Linked DNA regions of Homo sapiens: region 1 is linked to region 2. Evidence: promoter capture Hi-C in 16 types of primary human blood cells and fetal thymus (Javierre and others, 2016). All regions are on one chromosome and are shown on one strand. Each heading gives the region's core, a stretch centred on a gene start or on the middle of the fragment in contact. The rest is flanking DNA. Distances are from core to core; before and after follow the strand shown. Region 1 overlaps KIF19 (kinesin family member 19). Region 2 holds the start of RPL38 (ribosomal protein L38).

Region 1 (6,930 bases), core at 4,214-6,713, 150 kb before region 2:
GGGCCTGGGGCCGTCCCCATGATGTCCGACTGCCCGGGACGGGGCCTCGCCCGTGCTGCTGGACAGGTTGTCCTCACTGGCAGCATGCTGTAGTGTGGGGCTGGGCGGCCGCTTGCAGGCCAGTGGGCCTGGTGGCCGCGCATCGTCGCCCTCGCTCAGTGAGTGCAGGGACAGGCTGCTGCGCTCTGTCGCGGGTGCCAGCAGGTGTCGCCCCTCGGTTCCCAGGGCCCGCGAGCGCCGCCGGGCGGCCTTCACCCAGATGCACTTGGTGCCAGTCAGGATCTCCTTCCTCTCTGCAGCGGGACACGGGGAACATACAACCCGAGATCAAGGCCACCTCTCAACACCCTCCTCTGACATGGCAGACGTGGGTAGGAGCCAGACCTCCTGGGTTTCAATCCTAGCACTTCCAGGGGTTTGCTATGTAAGAAACTTGGGCCCATTTCCGAGCCTCACTTTCATCTGCAAATGGGGGATGGTAAAACTAATGCCATCGGTTATTTCCAGGATTAATTGAGGAAATGGGCTCAACCTACATTATCCAGGGGGCAGACATTGAATCGATATTTGCTATTACAGTGATTACTGAGCGGAGGCGGCGGGGGAGGGGGGACATAAGTCTCCATGCCACATGTCTCTTTTCTAATTTCCGATTCTGCCCCCATCTCTCTAAATGTCCTTGACTTAGAGAAGACTCTTAAGTGTCCTTGACTGACTAATCCTCAGGGGCAATGGTGCCTCTACAGAATGTGTAGCACCCAATGCTTGGTTGCACTTGGCAGTGCAGAGGGCAGGAAAGGGCTTTGAGCTGGGTGATCTGAACAGTTTAGACAAGGCCAGGTGAGGTGGCCGGGCAGCAGAGGGCACACATACCTTTGTGGGACAAGGGGATCTCCGACAGGTTCTCACTGCTGTCAGGGGAAGAGTTGATCCAGCTGCCCAGGCTGTCCTGAGCCGGGGCCTGTGGGGTGGAGTGGTTGGGAGGAGGAAACCCTTAAACACAGCAGGGACCCCATGCCCCACTCAGCAGAGACAGCGGGGCCTCAAGCTGGTGCCGTTTGGGAAAGGGTCCATCCCAACTGCTGCTGTCCACCCCCATGTCCCGCACCCGCTGCAGTGGAGCTCGTGGGGCCATCGGGTACTGAGAGCTCACCTCCTGCGTCACCAGGCTGCCGAGCTGGATGGGAGGTGGGGTGGGCACAGAGGAGCTTTTTGCCTGCCAGGCCCCAGTACCAGCCTTGAACACGTGGTGGCCTTCACTGAAGTTGGCAGAGGAAGATGAGTGGCTGTAGACCAGGCTATCTCACCGAGGTCCCACCCCCACCCCAGGGGAGAAGCTGTTGGTGTGAAAGGAGAGAGAACCCAGGAGTCCTGGCTCCAGACCTGGGCCACCTGCTCCCTCTCATTGCTGCTCTGTGTTCCCCATTTAGCCTTAGTCTGGGTTGGCCTCTCTGGGACAGGGCACAGGGTGGGGGCTGGGGCAGGTGGCCCCCATCTCACCTCTCTGTGCTGAGGGGAGGGAGGGCGCTGTTCTGCAGGTGCTGGGCATCAGAGCTCAATGTCTTCACACTCTCCAGGTCAGAATCTGGGGTCAGTGAGGTTCCTGCTGGGGTAATTTTGGGCAAGGAGCTGTCCTGGGGAGGAGGGAGCCAGGGTGGACAGTTAGAAGATTTGGTCCTGGACCAAATCAGCACAGAGTCACAAAGGCTTACAGGGTGACAAGGGCTGTAAGATGGCCTGGGAGCCCCAGAAGGGCAGTGGGCTTGTGTTTGGGTCCTCGGGGTTAAGCTGTGGTCTGCTAGGCTTCCCCAGTGGCACTGCCTGATGCTTGGTCTCCTGGGAGGGCAGCTGGAGCCATTTGTGATATCTCAGATGGCCAGCCCTGACCCTCAGACCCTGGGTGGGAGCAAGTGATGCCCAGGAGTGCCCAAGGAGGAGGGTCTTACTCAGGCTTGACAAGGCTTTGGGTGGGGTAAGAAGGAAAGGGAGTCAACTCCCTGGGGTGCCAGCCAGCCTGGTCCTGTCCCCTCCAGCTGCCTGAAGGCATTGCCTTGGTCATCAGCCCCTCCCTGGGCACATGTGCCCATGTTCAGGCCGCCCAGGCGCCCACCCACCTGCAGGGCCCTGGAGGCCACTTGGTCCATGATGGTGGCCTGCTCCAGGCTGCCCTCCTCCAGCTCCCGCAGGTACACTTCGTAGAGCTCTTCCAGGCGCTGCGGGACGGCCAGGTTGTAGTCTGCTGGGGAAGGGGCAGGGCTCAGTGAGTGCCAGCGGCCCCCCCGCGGGTGGCTCAGATGCGCGGGGGCGTGGGCCCTACCGTCGATGATCTGCCGCTGGCCCTGGATAATCTCGTCGCAGAGACTGCGGTGCTGCTCCAGGCGGCGCACGGCCTCGTGGCGGTGGCGGAGCGCACCGTCGCGGAGCAGCGCGTGCGACTGCATCTCGGTGTTCTCCACCTCGAGCTCGTGCACGCGGCACAGCAGGCTGAGCACCTCGCGCTGCTCCTCGGAGCCGATGCGCCGCGGCAGCGTCTCCTCCAGGCGCCGGCCCCGCGCGCGCAGCTCCCGGCAGCGCTGCTCCAGCGCCAGCTGCAGGAGGCGCAGGTCAGCATCTGGCAGCGGGGAGAGGGGTCCGATCCGCCTGCCCAGCTCGTCCTCGACCCTCCAGCGCCTGGACTCCAGGCATCTGTCTGGAGCTCCAGCCTGAGGCCAACCCTAAAAGCTGAATCTTGGGCCTTACAATCAGGGACTGCTCCAAGGTGGCCCCTCAGTGTCCACTTTCTTGCTATCCTGACCGCAAACCACCCCTGGAACCAGCTTGGGGGATAACTGCTCAACCCCAGCCCATGTGACCCCCTCAGGGCTCATGATACCCTAAAGCCCCTTTGGTCTGGGTATGTCCCAGAACAGAAGGCAAAGATCTGTTATTGGGAAAACCCTAATTATTATTATTATTTTTCTTTTTTGAGACAGGATCTCTCTCTGTCACCCAGGCTGGAGTGCGGTGGCGCTATCCCGGCTCCCTGCAACCTCTGCAGGGTTGCAAGTGATTCTTATTCCTCTGCCATCCGAGTAGCTGGGATTACAGGCGTGAGCCACCACACTAGGCTTTTTTTTTTTTTTTTTTGTATTTTTAGTAAAGACGGGATTTCGCCATGTTGGCCAGGCTGGTCTCGAACTCCTGGCCTCAAGTGATCTGCCTACCTCAACTTCCCAACGTGCTGAGATTACAGGTGTGAGTCACTGTGCCCAGCCTGAAAAACCCTAATTATAACATTAGTTACCATTTTTTGAGTCCTTGGTATGTGCCAGGCATTTATGTAATCTTCCCAGCAACCCCATGAGGGCTGCACCATGGACTGCTCCCATTTTACAGGTGGGGAATGTGACGCATAGAGAAGTTAAAGAGCTTAGCAAAGTCACACAGGATTTGTGGCCTGAGTTCCCAAGTCTCACGGCTACCCCCACCCTGGCCCCTCCGCCTTGCCTCTCAAACCTGCTCACCCTGTCCCCTAAACCCACTCTCCTTGTCCCCCCAAACCCTGGACACCTTCTGCTTGCGCAGTTGCTTCTGCTCGTCCACCAGGGCTGCAATGCTCTCCCGGGCTGCGGCCACCTCGGGTGGCTCCAGGATGTCTGGTTGGTCATCACCTGTGTCTGAGTCCTTCTCGCTGTCGTCCTTAGCGTAGCACTCCTTTCGCTGCTCCTCCCGCCATTTGAGGGCCCGGCGGGACTTCTCATGCTTCCAGCTGCCGCAGCCCCACCCAGAGAGACAGGGCATTCAGGCCATGGGGGCAGGGCACACTGTACAGCCACAGGTCGTGCTCCTCTGTCCCAGGCACAGGGGTGGGGCCTGGAGGGTCCTGGGAGGGGGGCTTACCCGGCGATGGTGAGCAGGTGTCGGGAGGTGTCAATCTGGACCTCCATGGCGCGGTTCTCCAGCTCCAGCAGGCGCCTCCGCACATCCATCTGCTCCTGGAAGGCGCTGGCGAGCTGCTCCCGAAGCTGTCCCATGCCAGCCTTCTCACCCTGCCCGCTGTGCAGCTGGACCTCAGCTGCCGATGGGTGAGGGTGGGCAAGGTAGAGGAGGCGGCAAGTTCAGCTAGCAAAGCCTGGGCCCACCTGGGCCCCTCCCCTCCTTTTCTTCCCAACTCAGTGCTCCCACTTCCTGTCCAACTGCTTCCTCCAGGAAGACCCCCTAGATTACTACATCCTCCCAGACCCCACTCCCACATTGAGTCTTCAAGCTGTTGCCCAAAAGCAATTCCCAGCTCCTTGGTATGAACTGGGCTCCTGCTAACCCTTACAGCACCTCTGTGCCAACTATAAAAAGGTGCCCCTAGAAACTACCGTCTGTGGCCAGGCACAGTAGCTTACACCTGTAATCCCAGCACTTTGGGAGGCCTAGGCAGGCAGATCACCTGAGGTCGGGAGTTCGAGACCAGCCTGGCCAACATGGTGAAACCTCGTCTCTACTAAAAATACAAAAATTAGCCAGGTGTGGTGGCGGGCACCTGTAATCCCAGCTACTTGGGAGGCTGAGGCAGAAGAATCGCTTGAACCCGGGAGGCAGAGGTTGCAGTAAGCCTAGATCATGCCACTGCACTCCAGCCTGGGCAACAGAGCAAGACTCTGTCTCAAAAAAAAAAAAAAATCTTTACTGTCTGCCTCTCTCTTTATATTAGTAAATTTTTTTTTAAAAAAAGCTTTACTGTCTGTTGGAAAACCATCATAGCAAATATGCAGGTCTACAAGGAAACGGAGCCCATTCCGGGGGTGCAGGCATGACCTCGCAGCCCTACGCCACAGCCCTTAGTGTGCGCCCTGCGCAGCTCATTGCTCACGTGCCTCTCCCTCGTGGGATCCCACCTACTCTTCCAAGGTGGGGTTGGGAAATCGGCTTGTGATCTCTGGTAACTGTCTGAAGCAGAGATCACAACCCCATTTAACAGCTGAATGCTAGGAGGCTCAGAGCTGGTGAGTGCCTAGCTCAACCACCCAGCCAGAAAGAGCCCGATTCTGGATTTGAACACAACATGGCCTGATCCCAGAGCAACGTGAGGCTGGCCGGAGGGGGCTGCCACTCACACAGACCCACAGGCGCACCTTGGATGTGGCGGATGTCACCCCGATCCTGCCGGCCCCGGGCCTGGCCCCGCCCAGTCTGCTCATCAATCTTGCGCTTGAGTCGCTGGATCTCGCCCCGCAGGTCAGCGATGATGCTGGTGTACTGGGCGATGTGGTAGGAGACGTTCAGGAGGTTCTGCTTCACCTGCAGGGAACACGTATGGAGCGGAGGGGATGCAGTCACCCCAGGTGCACTCACCGAGGCCTGCCTGCAGGGCCTTTCTTCCCCCTGCCTCCCCCAGTCTTTCTGGGTGACAGTAATGGCCTCCTTTCCTCCACTTCCACAACCTCCTGTCACACTCACTGCTAGATCTCATCAACCTTCAGTGGCTTCCTAATGCCTGCGGGGAACGTCCTCATTCCTCCACCCGTTGTTGAAGGGCCACCCCCATCTCTCTGATTTTCTCTGGGCTCACCGCTCCTGCATGAACATCCCACTCCAGTTGAAGACCTGTCCTGCTCTCCCCATACCCACCACAGACGCCATCCCCTTCCTGCCTTTGGAACCTGTGCTCTCCCTGCTCCCACCTTTCTGGAATGTCCTCCCAGCCTTCAGGGTCCCACTCACAGTCTCCAGAGAGTTCCACTGGACCCCACCAGGCCACCCCCACCTCCTGTTCCTGTCTTGCCCCAGCACCTACCATTGGCATCATTTACCTGCTATTAGGAATATTCTGAACCATCAATGAGCTGTTTCAAGAATGTGTCTCCCGTCCCCCATTGAGGGGTTGGAATAAAACTTACAGCCCTCAGGGCAGCAGCTGGCAAGTGTTAGGTGTTGGGAGAATGTTCCCTACATGCTATCATACATGAATCCATTCCCACTCCTCCACACACGAACAGGTGGAAATGGATTTCTAAGCGGATGGCAAGGGTTCCGACATGCTTACAGACAGGTGAGGACACGGACTTGGAAACGGGGCAGATCTCATTTCCATCCTCAGCGCCATCACTGGCCAGCTGGGAAGTCACTTAACTTCCTTAAGCCTTGCTGTCCTAATCTGTACATGGGAACCGCAATAATACTGCTGTTTTTTGAGGATCAAAGGAGGTAGCATGTGAAACAGCTCAGAGCAAGTGCTCAATGAAGCTTGCCTCCTGTGATGACCATCATGAAGAGGTGCTTTGGAAATGCAAAGGTCTAAATGAGCATCTGAAGACGAGGAAGGGAAGAGAAGAGGGGATGAGGCAGGGGGAGCACAGTCCTGGGACTGGAGGAAGCGGGGACCCTTGGGAGCTGTCGGCTTCCCGGCAGAGGAGCAGGGTTTGGAGGTGCAGGGAAAGTGTACAGGTGACGATCAACTAGGGAATGAGGCCAGTGCAGCAGTGGCTGGTTCCAGAGAGTGCAGTGGGGTGGCAGGGATCAGCCCGGGGGCTTGAATCTCAGCCCAGGAAGGTGTGTCCTGGTGGACGGTCCAGGGGCCCTCACCCTAGTCTTAATGTTCTTGGCCCGGCCGGCGTAGGTCAGGGTGTTCCGGGACTCCTCGAAGGCACTGCTCGCAGGACTGATGTGAGCGATCATCACTGTGCGGCTGTTTCCTCCCAGAGAGTCCTGGATGGGAGGTGGCTGTGGTCAGTGGGGACTGCCTCCTCAGGCCTTCCTCCTGCCAGGCTGTTCACGATGCCCTCCCTGGCGAGTGCAATCTCTCTGTCTCTTTACACTTAAGGGACCCGGCTGCTGAGCGTCATATGGTGTGAGGCTTGGGAGGAAGAAAGCCCTGCTCCAGCAATTACCAGCTGTGTAACCTTAATAAAGCTCATTCACCTCTTTAGTTCTTTTTTTTTTTTTTTTGAGACAGGGTCT
Region 2 (6,541 bases), core at 1,162-3,661:
GTCCCCAGGGGACTGTGACCACTACCTTTAAAGCCACATCATCTAAAATGAAGGTTCCCAATTTTTTTTGTGAGACAGTCTCGCTCTGTCACCCAGGCTGGAGTGCAGTGAGACAATCTCAGCTCACTGCAACCTCCGTCTCCTTGGTTCAACTGATTCTCCTGCCTCAGCCTCCTGAGTAGCTGGGACTGCAGGCGTGTGCCACCATGCCTGGCTAATTTTTTTATTTTTAGTAGAAATGGGGTTTTGCCATGTCGCCCAGGTTGGTCTTGAACTCCTGGTTCAAGCGATCTGTCCGCTTTGGCCTCCCAAAGTGCTGGAATTATAGGCATGAGCCACCACGCCCGGACCACCACCCTTTTAAAACACAATCAAACGGTGGTGTCGTGTTTAACTTGCTGAGAAGGGTAAGTTACCTGCAGGTAGAGTTGGGCTTCAAACTAGGCAGTGACCCCATATGGTCTGAAATAAAACTGACCTGATAACCTCATCTCTTTACACAAAACACTAGCCAACAGTCATCATTCCCACCAGATGCTATTTGTCCCCACAGGTGGTCACTACCTCAAAGGTGACAGCCTGTTTTGGGTAATGGGGACACAAATATGACCCCCATCTCTGCCTACCCCCAACTCATTGAAAGACTCTCCCTGTACACCAACCACCGTCTGGCACCACGGCTGGCAGAGCATTAGAGACGGCTGGTGTCTTAGCCCACCTTAACAGGCCTGTCCCATGCAACCTCACTTCCACATGTGACCTGATTCTCAGTCAGCTGAAAAAAGATGACTGGGTTAAAGTAACAACATAACTCAAGACCTAGCTTGTATCAAACACAAGCCCCCCCAATCTCCTTCAAGTATCACAAAGGAGTAACACAACTACCTCTCACACTTGGTGTAAAAATTTAAGTAAGTGGGCAGCAGAGATTGGCACCTATCCATCGAAAACCTGCTGTTTAAGGTTTTTCATTAATCACCTTCTTTCCCCTGTATGTACAAGCTGGGAAACAGACCTATGACAGTCCAACTTAAACTCTGTGACTTTACAATGGTGGTAATGCGATATACATTCAGTAGAAGCCCTGCTTCAAATTTTGATCTTGGCGGGGCACAGTGGCTCACACCTGTAATCCCAGCACTCTGGGAGGCGGAGGCAGGTGGATCATCTGAGGTTAGGAGTTCGAGACCAGCCTGGCCAACATGGTGAAACTCTGTCTCTACCAAAAACACAAAAATCAGCTAGGCATGGTGGCGCGCCCAGCTACTTTGAGGCAGGGGGATCGCTTGAACCTGGGAGGCGGTAATTGCAGTGAGCCAAGATCGCACCACTGCAATCCAGCCTGGGCGACAGAGCCAGACTGTCTCAAAGAAAAAAAAAAATTTTTTTAAATATTTTTCTGGATTAGATAGGTATGATACCTTCTGACACTGGCCAGCGACCACAGGATCACGAGGTAAACGACCATACTACACAGTGTGCCGTGCTCGATACATTACATGCAAATATCCAGCACTTTATTACAAAATGGATTTTGTGTTAAGATTTTGCACAACTGCAGAGAACCTAAACAGTGTTTATGGGACGTGTGTTTTGAGGCTTTCGCGGAGTGGAGATTCCGTTCCGACAATTTACTATATTATACGAAAGAAAACTGAACTCAGGGCGGCCTCTGAGATGATCGCGATTAGCTAAAGATGGTCCTAGAAATTCCAGGGCCTCAACGTGCCCCCCACAGGTCTTTCTCATGGGAAACAGGATGAAACCACTGCTCCCAGAGGGCCAGGCACACACCCAGACGGCCTAACCGTCTCCTGCCTGACATTCCGGGGAAGACGCTCCCGGAGCGGTGCCAGGCTAGGCACCGCTCTTCTTGAACCTTCGGAGCAACCACTTACATTTGGCATCCTTTCGTCGGGCTGTGAGCAGGAAGTCCTTGATTTCCTCAATTTTCCGAGGCTGCAACACAAAGGAAGCGGGTGAACAGAGAGGAAAGAGACACGTCTCCCGGCGATGGCCCAGTCCACCAGCTTCTCCCGGCCTCAGGAGATCCTTGGGAGGCTCTCTCGCCCTCGCCCCGGGGCCCCACGAGCCCACCCCGGGAAGGCGCCAGGCAGGGACTGTACTCACCATGGCGACGAGGCGCGCTGGGCTCTGGCGCGGACCAGGACCTGCGGGAAACAGTCCTCGGCGTTAACACGGCGCGGGGGCTGGCAGCGAACCCCGTTTTCCCGCTCTCCCCCGAAATATCGGCCCCATCGCACTCCCCTTCTCCTCCCCGACACCCTCCACGCGGACCTGGGGTCCCCAGATTTCACCTGGCAGTGGATTGCCCCAGATTACCTTTCTCACCCACGTATCACCCTAGAGACACTCACAGCAAGCAGCAACCGGGGAAAAGGACGAAAAAGAACGAGACTTCCGTTTCCGGGCAGTTAAACCCTCCCAACGGAGGAAACTGGGTACGGTGCCTGCCGAGGATCAAGACTCATGTAGGCGTTCGCACTTCCAATTTCAGCAGCCCTGCCCCCTTGTGGTCGAAGTCAACAGTGCAGCTCCAAGAATGGAATGGACCATCCTGGCTGCCGCCCTCCCTCCGCCTCCCTCCTCTCGCTCCTCCCCATCCCTTCCTCCTAGGACCCCCGCCTCTTCCCCGTCCACCCCTTCCTGTCTTCCCCCGCAACCCCTCAGACCCCAGCCTGGCTTTGCTAGGTTTTAGCTCAGATTCAGTTTGAAGAGCTAACGCTTATTCTCCACGGCTTTCATTGGACCTGCGCAGGGGCATCCACACAGAAAATTCTTCATTCAATGGCAGGGACCCTCGTGTGCACCTTGTAGAACCTGTTGTTCTGGCGCCTCACGTTTTCTTCCCGTCTCCTTTTTGGCACCTGAACCTGTCATGACCAGGGCCCTGGGCTCTTCTTTCCATAAGAGGGAGCGTTCCTGCTTGCTGCTTCCAATTCCCTTAGGAATTGGTGTACAATGAAAGCAAGTTAAGGCCGGGCGCGGTGGCTCACGCTTATAACCCCAGCACTGGGGGAGGCCGAGGCAGGCGGATCGCTTGAGGCCAGGAGTTCGAGAGCAGCCTGGGCAACCTAGTAAGACCTCCCCCCCCCCATCTCTAGCAATAATGATAATAATAATAATACTTCCAAAAGCTGTCGCAGCGCTGCCCCTGGCTAAGTGTCTCACCCCTAGGGCTGATGGTGAGTGGGAGTGCTCCTGCTCTTGCGGGGTCTCACCGCGGCCCCAGAGGGGAGAGGTGGACTCAGGAGTTGAACCCCTGCTGGGCAGATTCCCCAGCCCAGGCTCCGGCCACTTCCTGGGGAGGCTTGGGAAGCCTGGGGAGGGCAGCGTTCCTTTCTCCCCCTAACATCCTTTAGGTTAGACTCTGAGCAACCTGCGGTTATCGATTTTATTTTTATCCTCCATTTTTATTTTATCTCCAACCTCCCTACAAATGTCTACATTTTATTATATTTGTTTCCCCAAAATTTAATAACCACACGGCAGAATGTAATTGCTTCGTGCTTATTATTACAGAGCGGCCCTCCTGAAGGGAAAGAACACTTTGCCATGAGCTTTACTTAGAACTTATTTAACTTAACCTTCCTTTCTTCCTCCCTCCTGCCCTTCCATTAACAAGCTCAGGCTGAGCACCTTCCTGGGGGTGCTGGAGATACAGGAACCAATAGACCTTGCTGCAGAGAGATCACAAAAATATTGTAATAACACTGAAGAGTCTTTTAAAGAAGCTGAACGATGTCTCTGCAACTGTAAATGTGTCGGGGTTCTAGCAGTGGGAAAAGTTAATTGGCAGAAGCCTAATTTTAGATGTCTGAAGGTCGGATCCGATCTGAGAAGCACGAGTGCTTCAGCTCTGACCTGAGAAGGATTTTCCCATACCTCAGAGCCCGGCTTTGCCAGCCCTTCCCATCTCAGGCGATGCCTTTCTGGTCTTTTCTACCCCACTGCTCCTCCACAAGCAACCACCCTTTCAGCCAAGCCGAGGGGCACTTTTGGGCACTTTCTGCCCTCCAGGTATTTGCTCTGCTGTCCACTCTGATGCCAAGTGCCACTGGTCCTTCCGAGCTCAGCTCCCGCCTCCCCTTTTTCAGGCAGGACCCTTCACCCTTGACTTATGTTGCTTGCCGCTCATACAGTGGTTCCTTGCAATCACTTCTCCGTAGGCTGCGTGGAGGTGTTTAACTTTTCATACATGCGCACCACTCTTTTTATTTTTAATTTTTTAAAACTTTTTTAGAGACATGGTCTCCCTAGGTTGCCCAAGCTGGTTTCGAACTCCTGGGCTCAAGGGATCCTCCTGCCTCGGCCCCCCAAAGTGCTAGGATAACAGGTGTGAGCCACTACGCCCCACCTTACCACTTTTCCTTGAAGGCAAGGACAGGGCTCAGCATTCTGTCGATAACTCTCGAAGTGCAGTACCCATCTGTACAGTAAGTGCTCAATGCTAACATTGCAGGATGATCCGGCTGGATGCGGCATCTGAGATCACTCACCATATAAAGGGGTGGTGGATGGAGGGAGGAATTCAGGGAGAGCCAGAAGGAGACACTGACGTGCCTGAAGCAGTGCCTGGCATGTAGTAGGTCCAAAAACTATTTGTTGAATGAATGACTGGTGCTTCTTGCCTCACTGCCGGCCCGACAGGACAAGGACGGGGATAGAAGGAGGAGCTGCACCTCCCTTTTGGCAGCGATCCCAGGGAGACAGATGTTCACCCTCTTGAGTTGTATAATTTAAGGGACCATAGACGTGTAGTAGCAAAACACAATGGCAAATTTGTTCAAGTACCAAAGACCTCCAGCTCCCCAAGGGGGACAAATAGCAAAATAAGCTGCAGCTACTAAAAGTGAGGCAAGGTGCCCAGAGGGCACGCTTCCCTGCTCCATGGGAAGATGAGCCCCAAATGTCCTGGAGTGGCCGGGGACTGTCAGAGACCAAGGGGGGCAGAGCCTAGGCCCTGAGTGCCACAGCCTGAGACCTTGAGCAGATGCTGACCTGGACATGAGCCTCCCTGATGACTCCCATATACACATGAAACAAAACTCTCCAGGGCCTAGGGTGGATCCTGCAGGAGAGGAAAGCCCCGGACTCGAGGGCAGGATGGCCCAGGCTGCCTGTTATGGTCGCTCTGGCCATTGGTAGGCTGGAATGTCCAGTGCTGGCAGCTGTGGGATGGTGAGGGCTATTGCTGTTGTCAAGAGGCGGTAGGGAGGGTCTCAAGCAGTGTGTTGCAGCATGGCTGGAGGCAGGAGAGGCTCAGAGGGCATGTCCGGAGCTACAGGACACAATCCAACCCTTTTCCTTCCTTCCCTTCCCTCACTCTGCTGGCTCTGGGCAGAGAGGGCCTCAGAAGTCACCGGGCCTCCCCTCCTCCCTCCAGCAGCCCCACTCTGGCCACCTCTGAAGGCCAAATGGTTTAGAGTTCTCTCTTCAGTTTTCAGGGACACATTGGAAAGAGGACCAGGATGGGTCAAAAAAACCCCAATGCCCCAGCTCGCAGGTGGGCAGAGGGCTGGCACGGCACATGGCTGGGAAGACTTCCCAACCTCCAGGATTTTCCCCCATTCAATCCATTCCGTTCACTTGGTGAACATCGGGCTGGGCTTGGGAATAAGCAGAATGCGGTTCCTGCTCCAAACACTCATGACTGTTGGGATCCCATAATAAGCTGTGGAGGATGCCCAGAGGCTAGGGGTCTAATTCCTCCTGAGGGAGTCCTGGAAGGCTTCGTGGAGGAGGGGACACAGTCTGCTGCCTCCGAGAGGGGTGCGCAGCAGCTTGCCCGGAGAAGGACTTCCAGACAGAAGGAGGGAGGGAGCTGACGTCAGCCCAGGGTCAGGAGAATGCGGGGTGTTTCTGAGAATGAGTGGGAAGTTCAGTGTGGCAGAGGTAAGGAGGGTCTGGGGCAGGGGGTCGGGGAGAAGAGGCTGGAGGGGGAGTTGGGCTGGAGTTCAGGGCCTTCAGGAGTTCCCCTTCCAGCCTCACTTATGCCCGCTGTGGTCATCGTCACCCAAGGGCCCATCCCTGGGGTCCATAGCACCTCCTTCACTGCCCAGCGGTGATCTTCCGAGCCTTAGTTTCCTGGTTTCTGTGTGTGTGTGCGTGCACGTGTGTGTATGTTTTGGGGGTGGGAGTGTGTGTGCTGTCGCCTCTCTCCCGCCTCGCAGGGTTGCAGCGAAGCTTCTATGGGGTGATTCGCAAAGCTCCAACCCGCACCTCTCAGGCAAGGCCCGCCCTGGGTGCTGTGTCCACTGGCGGCCGCACGGGGGCGCTGAGGCCGCGGCTGGAAACGGAATAGCCCCTTCCGCGCGACTCCTGGGAGCTCAGGCGGAGAGAAATGTCCATAAATTATCGGGAATATTTGTATGCGATTTCATACCTGGTGGAGTGCTTTCATATCCACCATCTCATTTAATCTCCAAGAGGCCCCTGCCTTTGGCTGCCGGCAGGGCTGGCCTTTAAACCATCTCGGAAGGGAGTTGTTTATTAAACCTTAAAGGTTGTCAGCAGGCCG

Evidence for each region. Contacts are between HindIII fragments. The CHiCAGO score rates a contact against its expected background, and 5 or more counts as called.
Region 1: a contact is called between a fragment that was not itself captured here and the fragment with the promoter of RPL38 in region 2, in 4 of 17 cell types (total CD8 T cells, total CD4 T cells, naive CD4 T cells and 1 more). The highest score is 7.3, in total CD8 T cells.

Annotation. Positions count from the first base shown.
Region 1 is chr17:74,347,525-74,354,454 of GRCh38, reverse strand. KIF19 (kinesin family member 19) reads right to left here. Exons shown (of 20, transcript NM_153209.4): 9 at 6,556-6,678; 10 at 5,106-5,271; 11 at 3,880-4,054; 12 at 3,550-3,748; 13 at 2,318-2,588; 14 at 2,115-2,236; 15 at 1,501-1,634; 16 at 1,154-1,259; 17 at 874-961; 18 at 1-293. Among named protein-coding and RNA genes, the nearest start is that of BTBD17, 11 kb to the left of the region's middle. RefSeq lists enhancers at 322-371, 1,675-2,205. The HindIII fragment of the contact is 1,511 bases long and covers 4,708-6,218 here.
Region 2 is chr17:74,199,548-74,206,088 of GRCh38, reverse strand. RPL38 (ribosomal protein L38) reads right to left here and starts at 2,411. Exons shown (of 5, transcript NM_000999.4): 1 at 2,344-2,411; 2 at 2,131-2,171; 3 at 1,899-1,959. The coding sequence starts at 2,133. RefSeq lists enhancers at 655-1,158, 1,159-1,663, 2,672-3,175 and a silencer at 6,130-6,179. The HindIII fragment of the contact is 15,941 bases long and covers 1-6,209 here.